Linked DNA regions of Homo sapiens: region 2 is linked to region 1. The links are contacts of gene promoters, found by promoter capture Hi-C in human tissues and cell types (Jung and others, 2019). All regions are on one chromosome and are shown on one strand. The core of a region is centred on a gene start or on the middle of the fragment in contact, and the rest is flanking DNA. Distances in the headings are between cores, read along the strand shown. Region 1 holds the start of SLC35G3 (solute carrier family 35 member G3). Region 2 has its middle 210 kb from the start of ASIC2-AS1.

Region 1 (2,952 bases), core at 341-2,840:
CTCTGATGCGGAGCCGAAGCTGGACTGTACTGCTGCCATCTCGGCTCACTGCAACCTCCCTGCCTGATTCTCCTGCCTCAGCCTGCGATTGCAGGTGCGCACCGCCACGCCTGACTGGTTTTCGTATTTTTTTGGTGGAGACGGGGTTTCGCTGTGTTGGCCAGGCTGGTCTCCAGCTCCTAACCACGAGTGATCTGCCAACCTCGGCCTCCCGAGGTGCCGGGATTGCAGACGGAGTCTCATTCACTCAGTGCTCAATGTTGCCCAGGCTGGAGAGCAGTGGCGTGATCTCGGCTAGCTACAACCTCCACCTCCCAGCCGCCTGCCTTGGCCTCCCAAAGTGCCGAGATTGCAGCCTCTGCCCAGCCGCCACCCCGCCTGGGAAGTGAGGAGCGTCTCCGCCTGGCCGCCCATTGTCTGGGATGTGAGGAGCCCCTCTGCCCGGCTGCCCAGTCTGGGAAGTGAGGAGCGCCTCTTCCCGGCCGCCATCCCATCTAGGAAGTGAGGAGCGCCTCTTCCCGGCCGCCATCCCGTCTAGGAAGTGAGGAGCGTCTCTGCCCGGGGGCCCATCGTCTGAGATGTGGGGAGCGCCTCTGCCTGGCCGCGACCCCATCTGGGAGGTGAGGAGCGTCTCTGCCCGGCCGCCCCATCTGAGAAGTGAGGAGCCCCTCCGCCCCGCAGCTGCCCCATCTGAGAAGTGAGGAGCCCCTCCGCCCGGCAGCCGCCCCGTCTGAGAAGTGAGGAGCCCCTCCACCCGGCAGCCGCCCCGTCTGGGAAGTGAGGAGCTTCTCTGCCCGGCAGCCGCCCCGTCCAGGAGGGAGGTGGGGGGCAGCCCCCGCCGGGCAAGCTGCCCCGTCTGGGAGGGAGGTGGGGGGTCAGCCCCCGCCCGGCCGCTGCCCCGTCCGGGAGGTGGGGGGCACCGCTGCCCGGCCGCCCCTTCTGGGAAGTGAGGAGCCCCTCTGCCCGGCCACCACCCCGTCTGGGAGGTGTACCCAACAGCTCATTGAGAACGGGCCATGATGACGGTGGTGGTTTTGTGGAATAGAAAAGGGGGAAAGGTGGGGAAAAGATAGAGAAATCAGATTGTTGCTGTGTCTGTGTAGAAAGAAGTAGACATGGGAGACTTCATTTTGTTCTGTACTGGGAAGGGTTCTTCTGCCTTGGGATGCTGTTGATCTGTGACCTTGCCCCCAGCCCTGTGCTCTCTGGGGCATGTGCTGTGTCCACTCAGGGTTAAATGGATTAAGGGCGGTGCAAGATGTGCTTTGTTAAACAGATGCTTGAAGGCAGCATGCTCGTTAAGAGTCATCACCACTCCCTAATCTCAAGTACCCAGGGACACAAACACTGCAGAAGGCCGCAGGGTCCTCTGCCTAGGAAAACCAGAGACCTTTGTTCACTTGTTTATCTGCTGACCTTCCCTCCACTATTGTCCTATGACCCTGCCAAATCCCCCTCTGCGAGAAACACCCAAGAATGATCAATAAAAAAAAACAAAAAACAAAAAAAGAAAGAAAAGAAGCAGAGTTGGACTCAGTGGGAAAATAGGCGTGCTACCACCTCAGGAGAGTTCCAGGGAAGAATCCCACCCCCACTCCAATGAGGTCACAATGGCTGGAGCTCTGAGGGGCCCAGGCTCCCTGAGCCAGGAGGAGAGGAGAAAGTCCAAGGAAAGATGGCTGGCAGTCACCCCTATTTCAACCAGCCTGACTCCACACACCCATCGCCGCCCTCCGCTCCACCCAGCCTCCGCTGGTACCAGCGCTGCCAGCCCTCTGATGCCACCAGTGGCCTGCTGGTGGCCCTGCTGGGTGGGGGCCTGCCTGCTGGCTTCGTGGGCCCCCTTTCTCGTATGGCTTACCAGGCTTCCAACCTGCCCTCGCTGGAGCTGCTCATCTGGCGATGCCTCTTCCACCTCCCTATTGCCCTGCTACTTAAACTGCGTGGCGACCCCCTTCTGGGAACTCCTGACATCCGAAGCCGGGCCTTCTTCTGTGCCCTGCTCAACATCCTCAGCATTGGATGTGCCTACAGTGCGGTTCAGGTGGTGCCCGCTGGCAACGCTGCCACTGTTCGCAAAGGTTCTTCCACCGTCTGCTCCGCCGTCCTCACTCTCTGCCTTGAGAGCCAGGGTCTCAGTGGCTACGACTGGTGTGGACTGTTGGGCTGCATCCTAGGACTAATCATCATTGTGGGACCTGGACTCTGGACACTACAGGAGGGGACCACGGGTGTCTACACCGCCCTGGGCTATGTGGAGGCTTTCCTGGGAGGCCTGGCGCTGTCCCTGAGGCTTCTGGTCTATCGTTCTCTGCACTTTCCCCCCTGCCTCCCAACAGTGGCCTTCCTATCTGGCTTGGTGGGGCTGCTGGGCTCTGTGCCAGGCCTCTTTGTGCTGCAGGCCCCCGTGTTGCCCAGTGACCTCCTGAGTTGGAGTTGTGTGGGGGCAGTGGGGATCCTCGCCTTGGTCTCCTTCACATGTGTGGGCTATGCGGTCACCAAGGCCCACCCTGCCCTGGTGTGCGCTGTCCTACATTCCGAGGTGGTTGTGGCCCTTATACTGCAGTATTATATGCTCCATGAGACTGTGGCACCTTCTGACATCGTGGCGGCAGGGGTTGTGCTGGGCAGCATTGCCATCATTACAGCCCAGAACCTCAGCTGTGAGAGGACAGGGAGGGTGGAGGAGTGAGATAGAACTTGGGAGCCCGGGGGTTGGGAGGGACAGGGATAAATAAAGGCAAAGACTGAAGACAAACATGGGAGGAGAAGTGACTGGAAAAGAACTGGTGTGGGAGAGGGATACCTCTCAGAGTCAAGGGTGACTTGGGGACTTGGTGGAGAGGGACTACGTGGAAGACCTGGGGCCAGCCTGGGACCAAGGGATGTGGAGTCCAGGCTGGGTCCTAGAATCAGGGCATAACTAAGGGGTAAAGTCTGAGGAGCAGATCC
Region 2 (2,850 bases), core at 36-2,535, 1.4 Mb after region 1:
TATTTAATGATGGTCAAAAATTATCATAAGCAAAGCCGGCTGGGCTGCCACATATTTTTGTCTGTCTTTGACAATGCTTATATCTGTATTAGAGTTTATCGCCATCAAAATCCACTGACAAATAAAAGTAAATGAGGCAATGGTAGTTGAGAGGAATGGGCTTTTGGAATAAACACAGGAAATAGCACAGGAATAAACCAAAACAGCTGTGATTTTTCTTTTTTTACCCTTTTCACCACAGATCAAATAGCACAGAGTTTAACTCTCAGCATACAGCTTCATTTTAACTGTTATTTTTCTTCTGATTTGGCTAAGAATCATCTCCTCAGTCAAAGTGAGAGCTAAACAATAGGTAAATAATAATAATAATAATCCCACATTTAGGATGCTACATTACACATGCAGATATGTGAAAGAAGCCACCAAAAACAAGCTCAGCCCTAGCTCAACACCCTGGTGAGGCACAGAACATGGAGGTTGAGAAGTCTGAGGGAGAAGAGTGCTTTGAAGCCCATTGTTCCTGGATTATATGGAGGTGTTATCTGGTGCCACTGCCTCTACCTCAAGCCTAGCAGAGAGGCTTCAAGGAAACCACTTGGAGAGTGTGATCTGCTTCTCTTTGAGTACAGCAGTCCCTCTATATCTGTAGGGGATACATTCCAAAAGCCTCAGCAGCTGCTTGAAGCCAATGATACTACCAAACCCTAAATACACTGTTTACTCCTATACATACCTATGATAAAGTTTAACTCATAAATTAGGCACAGTAAGAGATTAACAATTAATAATAAAACAGAACAACTATAACAATATACTGCAATAAATGTTATGTAAATGTGGCCTCTCTCTCTCTCAAAATATCTCATTGTACCATACTCACCTGTTTTTGGACTGTGGTTGACCGTGGGTAACCAAAACCATAGAAAGCAAAACCTCCAATAAAGAGGGACCATTATATGCTAAGCCACCTGCAATGGCAAGACAAAGAACCACTCCTAAGGGTCCCTGCCAAGAGAGGGTGGCCTACTAGAGCAGGGAGACCCCTTCCCAAGCAGCTCTGCTTGTAATAGGAGTCAAGGTGGAAAGGTCATAAGATACTGCATGGGGAATACATTGCCCACATCTGGGGCTGTGCGGTACAGCGGAGCCCACGGGAAGGGACGCCAAAGACCTCACGAATGTGCCTAAAGGAAGAATCCCATCTTGGAATATCCTCTAACCCCATCTGACTCCAGAGTCAAATCATGATAGCACCAGTCAAACAGAACATCCATGTCCCCCATCTGTTCTCCAAAAACTTGCTCTCAAGAACTCAATTGCATAGCTGTGTTCCACTCCAAGATTCCAGGGGAAATGGCAAGAAACTTAGAGTTCAGATTTTTTAAGAACTGCAGAAGACTGGACATTGTATCACTGAAATCATACTATTTTGAAACCAGCAGTGACCTAAGAACTTTTCATTTCCTGAAAGTGACAGGAAATTGAGGAACCTGCCTGAGACAACATCTTTGGGTGGGTAGGAAGGGTTGATAAGGTTGGTTTGTCAGATATTCCTGAGAGGGGAAAAGAAAGTTATTTTACAATTATGCTCCATCGCCGGGCGCGGTGGCTCACGCCTGTAATCCCAGCACTTTGGGAGGCCGAGGCGGGTGGATCACGAGGTCAGGAGGTCGAGACCATCCTGGCTAATACGGTGAAACCCCGTCTCTACTAAAAATACAAAAAAAAATTAGCTGGGCGTGGTAGCGGGCGCCTGTAGTCCCAGCTACTCGGGAGGTTGAGGCAGGAGAATGGCGTGAACCCGGGAGGCGGAGCTTGCAGTGAGCCAAGATAGCGCCACTGCACTCTAGCCTGGGCGACAGAGCGAGACTCCGTCTCAAAAAAAAAACAAAAAACAATTATGCTCCATCAAGTTCCACTGTCACCATCACAGTTAGTTTTGACTGCTGCTTTTTCCCCTCCAGAAAGACTATCTAGGAGAAGAGCAAGGGTGCTGACACGGGTGCTGGATGATGATGGCTAGATAGGCAGCAGTTTTACAGGTCAGCATCAGCATACGCCCAGGCTGATGGTCCATGAGCAGAAGAGAGAAAGTAACAATCAGGAAGATGGAAAGAGGAAAAGTCAGGCACGTGAATGTATCAAAGGGCACAAGGGGCTTGGTTTCCATCTTACATACCCATTGCTATTGTGCGAATGTCCCCTCCAAAGTTCATGTAGAAACTTACCCCCAGTGTGGCAGTATTGACAGATGGGGCCTTTAACATGTGATTGGACCATAAGGGCTGTACCCTCAAGAATGAACTCATCCATTCATGAATTAAAGGATGAATAGGTTATCATGGAGGAGGAATTGGTGGCTTTATAAGAAGAGGAAAAGAGACCTGAGCTAGCAAGTTAGTGCACTCAGACCCCTCGCCATGTGATGCCCCATGCTGCCTTGAGACTCTACAGAGTCCTCATCAGCAAGAAAGTTCCCACCAGATGTACTCCCTTGACCTTAAACCTCCCAGCCTCCACAGCTGTAAGAAACAAATTCTTTTTCTTTATTAATTATCCAGTTTCAGGTATTCTGTTATAAGCAGGAGAATATAGACTAACACACCCACTAAGGCTCAGTGAATGCTGGCTGCTCCAGGACAGTACATTCTCATTCTGAAATCAAAGCCTTTTTTTTTTTTTTTTTAGACAGAGTCTTGTTTTCTCGCCCAGGCTGGAGTGCAGTGGCGCGATCTGGGCTCACTGCAAGCTCCGCCTCCTGAGTTCACACCATTCTCCTTCCTCAGCCTCCCAAGTAGCTGGGACTACAGGTGCCCGCCACCATGCCTGGCTAAATTTTGTTTTTTTGTT

Evidence for each region. The method cuts DNA at HindIII sites, captures the fragments that hold promoters and counts their contacts. A contact is called where the count stands out against the background at its distance.
Region 2: a fragment that was not itself captured here is called in contact with the fragment with the promoter of SLC35G3 in region 1 in 1 of the 25 tissues and cell types used here (dorsolateral prefrontal cortex).

What each region holds. Positions count from the first base shown.
Region 1 is chr17:35,193,031-35,195,982 of GRCh38, reverse strand. SLC35G3 (solute carrier family 35 member G3) reads left to right here and starts at 1,590. Exons shown (of 1, transcript NM_152462.2): 1 at 1,590-2,952. The coding sequence starts at 1,676. The coding sequence ends at 2,692. The HindIII fragment of the contact is 5,493 bases long and covers 1-2,952 here.
Region 2 is chr17:33,764,152-33,767,001 of GRCh38, reverse strand. It overlaps a transcript of ASIC2 not described here. Among named protein-coding and RNA genes, the nearest start is that of ASIC2-AS1, 210 kb to the right of the region's middle. The HindIII fragment of the contact is 5,700 bases long and covers 1-2,850 here.